2 separate regions of the Homo sapiens genome follow, and region 2 is linked to region 1. The links are contacts of gene promoters, found by promoter capture Hi-C in human tissues and cell types (Jung and others, 2019). All regions are on one chromosome and are shown on one strand. Each heading gives the region's core, a stretch centred on a gene start or on the middle of the fragment in contact. The rest is flanking DNA. Distances are from core to core; before and after follow the strand shown. Region 1 holds the start of RNF212 (ring finger protein 212). Region 2 has its middle 9.2 kb from the start of CTBP1-DT.

Evidence for each region. The method cuts DNA at HindIII sites, captures the fragments that hold promoters and counts their contacts. A contact is called where the count stands out against the background at its distance.
Region 2: a contact is called between a fragment that was not itself captured here and the fragment with the promoter of RNF212 in region 1, in 1 of the 25 tissues and cell types used here (IMR-90 fibroblasts).

What each region holds. Positions count from the first base shown.
Region 1 is chr4:1,111,223-1,116,585 of GRCh38, forward strand. RNF212 (ring finger protein 212) reads right to left here and starts at 2,342. Exons shown (of 10, transcript NM_001131034.4): 1 at 2,134-2,342. The coding sequence starts at 2,242. It overlaps LOC124900647 (nascent polypeptide-associated complex subunit alpha, muscle-specific form-like), which reads left to right and starts at 2,417. Exons shown (of 3, transcript XM_047416477.1): 1 at 2,417-2,530. It overlaps LOC105374344 (a long non-coding RNA gene), which reads left to right and starts at 2,417. Exons shown (of 3, transcript NR_134676.1): 1 at 2,417-2,530. It also overlaps the pseudogene TMED11P. The HindIII fragment of the contact is 9,480 bases long and covers 1-4,843 here.
Region 2 is chr4:1,255,926-1,261,288 of GRCh38, forward strand. No RefSeq gene overlaps it. Among named protein-coding and RNA genes, the nearest start is that of CTBP1-DT, 9.2 kb to the left of the region's middle. The HindIII fragment of the contact is 7,601 bases long and covers 1-5,363 here.

The sequences.
Region 1 (5,363 bases), core at 1,092-3,591:
AATGCTCTTTCCAACAAGATAGTCTCTTCTAGTTTCCTTCACCTTTGGGGCTCTCCACACTCCAATATCTAGGATTATAGGATTATTATCCCGTATTAATCGCTCCCCAAATGTGTTCCTGGCTGTCTTGAGTTCCAGACCCACATGTGCAACTGCCTCTTGTCTTCCCCTGGATGGCTCTCACAGGATACAGGCCGTGTCCAGACATGAGCTCAGGGGCCCTGCACCCCACCCTGCTGTGCCCCACCCTGCTGGGTTCCCTCCCGCTGGGCTCCTCTCCAGTGTTTTGTCTAGCAGTGAAACCCTGTCCAGTTCTCTAGCCCTTGTCTCCGACTCATGTCTGCTGAATCTACCTAACTTCTCCTGAACCTATCACTTCTCCCCATCACCTCTCATGTGCTCAGCTGCAGTCTCTCCCACAGTTTCTATCTCCCTCCAATCTACTTTTCACCTCGCTGCCCGAGACACTTTTGTTTTTAAATACACACCTGAAATCAACAACTCCACTCCCAGGTTACACACCCAACAGAAATGTGTACCTAAGATCACCGAAGACAGGAGCAAGAAGATTCACAGTAGCATTATTTCTGCAGCCAAATCTGCAAACAACCCAAAGGGCCATGGACAGTGGAAACGATGAGTAACTTGGGGTGTATCCATACAATGGAACACCACACAACAATGAAAGTAGATGAACTACAGTTACATACAAATACAATGATAAACTTTGCTAATCCCACATTTCGGGAGGCCAAGGCCGGTGATTGTTAGAGGACAGGAATTGGAGACCATCCTGGGCAACAAAGGGACCCCATCTCTGTGAAAAATTAAAAAAATCAGGGGTGCGTGGCTGCACATGCCTGTAGCCCCGCTACCCTGGAGGCTGAGGTAGGAGAATCACTTGAGCCTGGGAGGCGGAGGCTGCAGTAAACCGAGATCCCGCCACCGAACTCCAGCCTGGGCGACAAAGCTGAGCTCTGCCTTGAAAGAGGCAAAGAGAAGGAAGGGAGAAAAAGGAAGAAAGATGGGGAGCCACAGAAAGCGGCTTTGCTGTAGGGCTGGTTGTAGGGCTGCATTCACTAAGGCTCCATGGGTCTAAGGCCAACTCCGAGGATGGAGGTCAGCACAGCTGGCGTCCCCTGGGGCTGGAGGGCTGTGAGCCACCGGCACCCAGCTGGCTGCTTTCACGGGGAAGTTCGCTTGGTAAAAGCTCACTGTGTTTTTGCTTTTGTTCTTGCATAAACATCAGTTCAACACAAAATTTTCACAGAAAGAAAAACGCCTCCCTGACAATGCGACTGTCCACTTGACACCAGGGCCCCGCGCTGCCCATGGAATAGGGCCAGAGTCCTCCACTGGCGTTAAGGTTGCCGCCTGCCCGCTTCTCCCCCAGGTCCTCCAGGCGGACCCGCAGCCTGCAAGCCAGAGCCCCCGACTGACAGGACTCGTGGCCCGACCCCTGTGTCCCCCTCATCTTGCATCCCGCTCCCCCCGGCGGCCCCTCCCCTCCACGGCCCCTTCCTGCCTGCGGACCCTCCCCCACGCCCTCCTCCCCTGGCGTCTCCCCTCCCCCCATCTCCTCGGTATCCCCCTTCCCCCCCAAGCCTTGACCCCCCACATCCCCCACCTTGCCCCCCTCCTCTGGCGTCCCCTTCCTCCCTGCAGCCCCCCACCACCTCCGGCGTCCCCTCTTTCCCCACCCTCCCGCAGCCCCTCACTCCCCCGCTCCCTCCCCACCGCTTCTCCAGTGTCCCCCTCTCCCCACGGGCCCCTCATCACGCCCGCGGCCCCCACTCCCCGGTGGCCCCTCCTCCGAATACCCCTACCTCCGCGGCCTCTCACCCCCCCATGCCCCCCCCGCTCCATGCGCCGTTTCTCCCCCTCGGCCCCCCACGCGCCCCCGCGGCCCCTCCACCCCAGGTCCCCCTCCCCTCAGAGTTCCCCTGCTCCTCGCGGCCTCTCCCCTGGCATCCCCCTCCCCCTGCCCCCTCCCCCTTCTCCACGCGCCCTCTCTCCTCCGCAGCCCCCCACGTGCCCCCATGGCCCTCCCACCCAAGTCCCCCATCCCCCGGAGTTCCCTGACCCCCTTGCCGCTCCCCTCCCCTCTCCAGCCTGCGTTCGGGAAGCCCTGACCTTTGCCGAGGCAGGCGTCGCAGTACACGTGCCCGCAGTTGGTGAGGCTGAAGCACGACGTCCTGTGGGGCGGCTGGAAGCAGCGATTACAGAACACCCAGTTGGCCATGCCAGGCGGGCGACCGCAGCGGCGAGGCCGGGCCCACGCGAAGCCCACGCAAGGTTGGGACCAGCCTCCCCGCGCAGGGCCCGAAGGCGGGCAGCTCTGCGCCTGCGCAAAGTCGACGGCAGCCCTGCGCCCGCGCACTGGAGCTCGCGCCCTCCCGCCAACCTCGCGGGTTCTCCCGCAGCACCTGGGAGGGCGCGTGTGACTCGTCTCCCAGGTCGTTTGGGCTGGAGTAGGCGGAGGAACGCACCGCGAGCACCAACGTCCCGCCCCTGTCTTGGCGGTCCTCAGGTGTTTTGTGGAAGCCGGGCCTGGGTGGCGGGCGCGGGGAATGGCGGCTGCGCTGAGGAGGCGTCGCGGCGCGACAGCAGTGGGGGAGGGGGAGGGGGAGCGCCGAGGGCGGGGGATGCGGGCCAGGCCCACCTTGAGGGCCGGGAGCTGGGCCGGAGGCCAGGGCGGCCAGGGTAGTGCGCTGGGCGAGGCAGGGGAGGAGTAGGGGAGAGTGGGCGTGGGGGCCCTGGGGGCCCGGGGAGCGGGATAGGAGGGAGGGAGGGATAAGTGGGTGTGGGAGTTGGGGTGGGAGCGGGAGTGGGGATGTGGGAGTTGGGGTGGGTGTGGGGGCGTGAGGCGGTGGGGGTGGGGTGTGATGAGGCGGTGGGGGTGGGGGGGGCAGTTGGGGGTGGGGGCCAGGCCGCGCTGCACGCTTTGGGACTAGTGTCCAGGTGGCCGCTGGCGCAGAGACCTCAGCACGGGAGGCCTGAGCCTGCTTCCCTCTGAAACGGAAGGCGTAGCTCGGGAAGGACCTCTGCTGCTTCCAGGTTCCAGCATGGGGAAGTGACTTTTTATAAAATTGTCCTCTGCGTGGTTTTGAGAGTTTCCACCCGCTGGGACGCTGCAAAGCTCGGATCGAGAGGCTCAGGCAAGTGCTTGTGCCGGGAGAGCGCAGGGTGAGCGCTCCCGGTAGCTACGGGCCAAGTGACCCCTGCGCCCCGAAAGATGTGAGTAAAATACAGCTGTTTCCAGGGCCTCGTATGAAAACCTTCTTAGTAATTTTATATTGATTACATGTTAACATGATATTTTTGATATATTAGGTTAAATATATATCAGTAGCGTTGATTTTACCCTTTCAAAAAATCCTTTTCAATGTGGAGACTAGAAAACTTAGAATTACGTATGGGCTGGGTGCGGTAGCTCACGCCTGTAATCCCAGCTACTCCGGAGGCTGAGGCAGGAGAATCGCTTGAACGAGGCGGAGGTTGCAGTGAGCCGAAATCACACCACTGCACTCCAGCCTGGGCAACAGAGTGAGACTTCGTCTCAACAACAACAACAGCAAATTAGAATTATGTATGTAGCCCACTTTTATTTCTGTTAGACAGTGCTGATCTCTACCAAGTTTAAAATAGCAAGACCAGCAACGTGGCAAAACCCCGTCTCTACAAAAAATACAAAAATTAGCTGGGTGTGGTGGTGGGCCCCTGGGGTCCCAGCTACTCGGGAGGCTGAGGTGGGAGGATTGCTTGGGCCCTGGAGATCGAGCCTGTGGTGAGCCTGACGGCACCTGTGCAGCAGAGCGAGACTCAGTCTCAAAAATAAGTTTAAGAATAGGATGAGGTGCCTAATCTATCAAATTCAGAAGCTGCATTATAAAAGCATTCTCTCAATGTTATAATGATATAACGTTAATCTCAATCTCTGGTATCTTTGAAATCATAAAAATAATACACATATATGCAGGTATTTTGATTTATTAACTCAAACATTATGCAGATTATTTGTCCTTATTGATAATATTTTAAACAATCTTCTTAGCTATAAAGAAGTCTTTCAGGTACTTCATTTGGAAAATTCCGACTGAGATAAAGATTAATATTTGTGCAAAAGCCCACCATAAAACATTGCTATTTGTATCTTCACTGGTCGTTCGAAAATTTTCTTCACGGTCCTATGCGGAAAAGAAGTAGGTTTAGTGTCATAAAGTACTTAACTCACGATTTTGAGGGGAGGGTTGTTGTGGGCATTCAAGGTATTTAATATTACCCAATTAATATCTTACACCAACGTATCCGTGCAGTCTGCTTTTCTAAACCAGAATCTGTTGCTTAGCCAAGTATAAGAGAGTAAAAATCAACCTTATAAAAGATGGTTTTGTATTTTGGTGTAAAATATCAGGAATTTGACCTATTCGTATATTTTATTTGCTACCATCAGGCAAAGCGAATATTACCCAATAGTGGTAGATTTCATCATTTGAGTCCAGCCTTTATGCCAGGCATTAGGCCAAGCACTTGCATGCCTTATTTGCTTGTCACACCTGTCCTTATCTTCCTGTTAAGGAAACTGAAGCTTAGAGATGACACAGATTACTGACAGGTAGTTGAGATTTAAGCCCATATCTGACCAATATCCACTTAGTGTAGTGACTCAAAAAGCACCTAATGTCATAAGAATAAAATTGTGATTTGGAAAGTGAGCATACGTGAGCCTCTACAAATACATGGGATGCATTTGGAAGCATTTATTCATTCTGCAAGCTCACACCCTGTGCTACTGGGGACTTCGTTAGGCACAGGGCATAAAAAGATGAATGAACTGAAATTCTGTTTCCTAGAGGAGTTCATAGTCCAGCCGACAGAGTGAAGAAAAATTGCTCTCTCTAGTCCCTGTGAATCCACACCGTTCTACCTCAGAGAGAAAGTGAGGAACAGGCAGTTCACTCTTTCCTTGGTCCAGGGGCTTTGTGTTGAGAAATGCGTTGCTGGTAGCAAGAGATAAAATAAGTTGAATAGGCAGACTGACCCTTTGATAGTTTTGTTCTTTGACTATTTGCTCAATTTGTTCAATTAGATGTTCAAGCTTGAAGGTAAGTTCATTAACTTTGTCCTTTGCTTGAGCAATGGCCGCATCAAGGTCGTGTTCTCCAACTCGAATATCTAAGTGGATCCGCTGTACAAACAGTAAAAAGGAAAAAACGGCATGTTTTTAAAAACAGCTCCACTCTTTTTCCTTACTTTCTCACTCTTGTATCCTCGTCCTTCCTTTTTCTCCCTTCCCCCTTTTCATAAGCAGGGCGTTGCTTCACTCTTCAGCTCCCTTTTTTCCCTCACTGCCACTCTTTCTT
Region 2 (5,363 bases), core at 1,013-3,512, 140 kb after region 1:
CCCTTCCCCTGGCCCTAGTACCCACCATTCCACTTTCTGTTTCTATAATTTTGACTACTCTAACTACCTCATATAAGTGGAATTCTGTGGTAGTTGTATTTTTAGCAACTGGCTTATTTCGCTTGGTGCAGTGTCCTCAAGATTCATCCATGTTGCAGCCTGTGTCAGAATCTCATCCCTTTTTAAGGCTAAATAGTATCCCATTGTTCATACCACGTTCTGCTTATTCATTTATCCATCAGTGGGCACTTGGGTTGTGATATGGTTTGGCTGTGTCCCCACCCAAATCTCATCTTGAATTGTGGCTCCCACAATTCCCACATGTTGTGGGAGGGACCCAGTGGGAAGTAATTGAATCATGGGGGCAGGTCTTTCCCATGCTGTTCTCGTGGTGGTGGATAAGTCTCACGAGATCTGATGGTTTTATAAAGGGGAGTTTTCCTGCACAAGTTCTCTTCTCTTGTCTGCCGCCATGTGATATGTGCACTTCACCTTCTGCCATGATTGTGAGGTCTCCCCAGCCACGTGAAACTGTGAGTCCATTAAACCTCTTTTTCCTTATAAATTACCCAGTCTTGCATATGTCTTTATCAGCAGCATGAAAATGGACTAATACAGGTTGCTTTCATGTTTTAGCTATTGTGAATAATGCTGCCATGAACATGTGCATACAAATATCTCTTTGAGAGCCTGCTTTCAATTATTTGGGGTATATGTGCAGAAATCTAGTTGCTGGGTAACTCTATTTTTAATTTTTTGGGGAAGCACCATACTGTTTTCCATCGTGGATGTACCATTTCACATTCCCAGCAACAGTGCAGAAGGGTTCCAGTTTCTCCACATCCTCGCCAACACTAGTTATTTTCTGGATTTTTTGTGTGTTTTTTTGTTTGCTTGTTTGTTTTATTAATATAGTAACCAACCTAATGGTGTTAGGTGGTATATCATTGCAGTTTTGTTTGGTTTTTGTTTTGTTTTTTGTTTTTGAGACAGGGTCTCACTCTGTTTCCCATGCTGGAGTATAAGTGGTGCAATCATAGCTTACTGCAGACTTGACCTCCTGGGCTCCAGTGATCCTCCTACTCAGTCTCCTGAGTAGCTGGAAATACAGGCATACACCACCATGCCTGGCTAATTTTAAATTTTATTTTATTTTATTTTATTTTTAGAGAAGTGGTGTGGGGGGGTCTCACTATGTTGCTCAGGTTGGTCTTGAACTGGGCTCAAGCAATCCCTTAGCCTCGCCAAGTGCTGGGATTACAGGTGTGAGCCACTGTTCCCCAGCCTTATTGTAGTTTAGATATGCATTTGCCTAATGAATGGTGACGTCAAGCATTTTTATATACATATTGCCCATTTGAGTACTTATTTAGAGAAATGTCTATTCAAGTCATGTGTCTATTTTTGAATCAGCTTTTTGTTTCATTGTAGAGTTTTAGGAGTTTTCTACATATTAAGGATACTAATTCCTGATCACATACACAACTTGCAACTATTTTCTCCCATCTAGTGAGTTGCCTCTTTACTCTGTTGACATTGTTTTTTGCCTGTGCTTTTGTTGTCATATCCAAGAAATTATTGCCAAATCCAAAGTTGTATAGCTTTGTCTTATTATTATTTTTTAGAGTTTTACAGTTTTAGATTGTACATTTAGGTTTTTGTAGTTTGTATATGGTGTGAGGCAAAAGGTCCAGCTTTATTCTTCTGCAAATTAATGTCCTGTTTTCCCAACACCGCTTGTCAAAAAGACTATTATTTTCCCCACTGGACGGTCTCAGCACCTTGTCAAAGATTATTTGACCATATATGTGAAGGTTTATTTCTGAACTCTGTGTTCTATTTCATTGACCTATGTGTCTGTCTCTATGCCAGTGTGGTACTGGCATAAAGATAGACATGTAGGTCCAGGGTACCACACTGGTATGACGACAGACTGTAGATTACTGTATTCTTGATCACTGTAGCTTTATAGTGAGTTTACCAGATTATGAAATTATTGATTACTATAGCTTTGTAGTAAGTATTGAAATCAGGAAGTGTGAGTCCTCTAACTTTCTTCTTTTCTTTCAACATTGCTTTTGCTATTTGGGATCCCTTGAGATTCTATATGAGTTTTAGGATGGGTTTTTCCATTTCTGAGAAAAAAAGGCTTTGTGGTTTTGATGGGGTAGAATTAAATCTGTAGATTACTTTGAGTACTATTGACATCTTCCAATCCATGAACATGGGATGTCTTCTTTATTTATTTATGTCTTCTTTAATTTCTTACCGCAATTTTTTTGTAGTTGTCAGTACAGAAGTCTTTAACCTCCTCAGTTAAGCTGATTCCTAAATATTTTATTTTATTCTTTTTGCTGCTACTGTAAGTAGAATTGTTTTCATAATTTGCTTTTTGGACTGTTCATTGTTAGTTAGCATGAACAATGTATTGATTTTTTATCCTGCTACTTAGCTGAATTCATTTATTAGTTCATTTATTTTTCATGCCTAATTGTTCTGGCTAGCACTTTTAGTACTATGCTGAATAGCAGTGGGGAAACAGGCACCCTTCCTGTGGGTTTTTCGTATATGGCTTTTATTATGTAATGTTGAGGCAGTTTCCTTTTATTCCTAGTTTGTTAAGTGTTTTTCTTTAAATCATAAAATGTGTTGAATTTTGTCAAATGCTGCCACTGCATCAATTCAGATGGTTATGTGGGAGATTTTCCCCTTCTGGAAATGTTGTGTATTGCACTGATCCATTTTCAGTTGAGCCGTCTTAGTACTCCAAGAATAAGTCACACTTGGTCATAGTGTGTAATCCTTTTTTTAATATGCTGCTGAATTAGGTTTGCTAGTATTTTGTTGAGAATTTTCACATCTATATTCATCAGGGATGTTAGTTCTGTAGTTGTTTTGTTTTGTTTGAGACAGGGTCTTGCTCTGTTGCCCAGGCTGGAGTGCAGTAATGCAATCTTGGCTTACTGCAGCCTATACCTCCTGGCTCAAGCCATTCTCCTACCTCAGTTTCCTGAGTAGCTGGGACTACAGGCACATGCCACCATGCCCAGCTAATTTTTGTATTTTATGTAAAGATGGGGCTTCCCCATGTTTCCCAGGCTGTTCTTGAACTCCTGAGCTTCCACCTCAGCCTCCCACAGTGCTGGGGCTGCAGGCATGAGCCACTGTGTCTGGCCCTGGTCTGTAGTTTTCTTTCTTTAAATTTTTTTTTTTTTTTTTTTTTAGAGACAGGGTCTTGCTCTGCTGCCTAGGCTGGAGTGCAGTGGTGCGATCATGGCTCATTGCAGCCTGGAACTCCCGGGCTCAAGTGATCTTCCCACCTTAGCCTCCCAAGTAGCTAGGACTACAGGCATGCACCACCACACCAGCCTATTTTATTCTTTTGTAGAGATGGGGTCTCAATATGTTGCCCAGGCTGGTCTTGAACTCCTGGTTTCAAGTGATCCTCCTGCCTCAGCCTCCCAAAGTACTTGGATTACAGGTGTGATTTGCCACACTTAGCCCAGTTTTCTTTTCTCATAGTGTCTTCGTCTGGCTTTGGCATCAGGATAATGTTGGCCTCATAGAATAGTTAGGAAGTAGTCCTTCGCCTTCAGTTTTTCTGAAGCGTTTGAGAAGAATCGGTATTCTTCATCCAATATTTGGGAGAATTTGCCAGTGAAGCCATCAAGTCCAGGGCTTTTCTTTGTCAGATTTTTCATTACTGATTCAATCTCCACATTAGTTATAATTCTGTTAAGACTTTCTATTTATTCCTGATTTGTTTCTCAGTAGATTTTGTGTCTCTAGGAATTTGTTTATTTCATCCATGTTATCCAATGTGTTGGCATACAATTGTTCATAGTACTCTCTTACAATTTTTTTTTATTTCTATAGAGTCAGTAGTAATGTGCCCACTTTCATTTCTGATTTAGTAACTGGAGTTTTCCCTCTATTTTCTTAGTCCATCTAGTGAAAGGCTTGTTAATTTTGTTGATCTTTCAAAGAACTAACTTTTGGTTTTACTGGTTTTTCTCTATTGTTTTTCAATTCTTTATTTCATTTATCTCTTCTCTAACCTTCAGTATTTCTTTTCTTCTGCTAGCTTTGGGTTTAGTTTATTCTTCTTTTTCTAGCTCCTTAAGTTGTAAAGTTAGGTTGCGGGTTTGAGATCTTGCTAGTTTTTTAGTGTAAGCATTTATAACTATGAACTTCCCCTGTGGCACTGCTTTTGCAGCATCCTGTAAGTGCTGGTCTGCTGCGTTTTCGTTTTCATTCTAAGTATTTTCTTTTTCCCTTGTGATTTCTTCTCTGGACTGTTGGTTGTTTAAGAGTGTGTTGTTTAACTTCCAGAAATTTGTGGATTTTTCAGTTTTACTTCTGTTATTGATTTCTAACGTTATCCTATTGTGGTTGGAGAAGAGTTTGTATGATACCTACATTTTAAAATTGATTGAGACCTAATTTGTGGCCTAACAGATGGTGTATCCTGGAAAATGACTCATGCTTATTTGAGAAGGATGTATATGCTGCTATTGTTCTTGGTAGAATGTCTGGATGTGTGTTAGATCTAGTTGGTTTATTGTGTTGCTGCCCGCCGCTGCCCTACACTCCTCTCACCCAACTACGCATCCAACTCTGCTGAACAGTGAGCTAACACAGCACAGACTGCCCGCCCTACATGCCTCTTACCCAACTACGTGTCCAACTCTGCTGAAACCCGAGCTAACACAGCACAGGCTGCCCGCCGCTGCCCTACACGCCTCTCACCCAGCTAGACTCGCATCCAACTCTGCTGAACCACCAGCTAACACAGCACAGGCTGCCCGCCGCTGCCCTACACGCCTCTCACCCAGCTAGACTCACTGTCCAACTCTGCTGAACCACCAGCTAACACAGCACAGACTGCTCGCCGCTGCCCTACGCGCTTCTCACCCGGCTAGACTCGTGTCAAACTCCAAGCAGACTGGTGAGACAGCGCTGCTACAATACAGGGTACAGGAGCCAAGGGGACGGCGCACAGGGACTTCTGTGTAACCATTTGTGGCCTGGGACCCCAGAGCTAGTGTCTGGCAATGTTTGGGTTTAGACCTAGGGGTGATGGCTCCAGTCCTGCCCACTTTGCCCCATCCTCTGGGTCCCGAGCCTACCCTGGGCCTTTGGACTCCTGCCAGGCCTTGCGGCAGGTGCATCACACTGTTGGGTTCCTAAGTGCCACAGGCCTGGGATCAGCAGACATGAGGAACACCAACGGTGTCCCTGGAAAGCAATCCCCGGGGCTGGGTGAGGCAGGAGGAGTGTAGCAGGTGGGGAAGCTGGATAGAGGTGGCCAGGATGGGAGCTGTGCTCTGTGGGCCATGAGAAGGGTGGAAGGACTTGGGGGC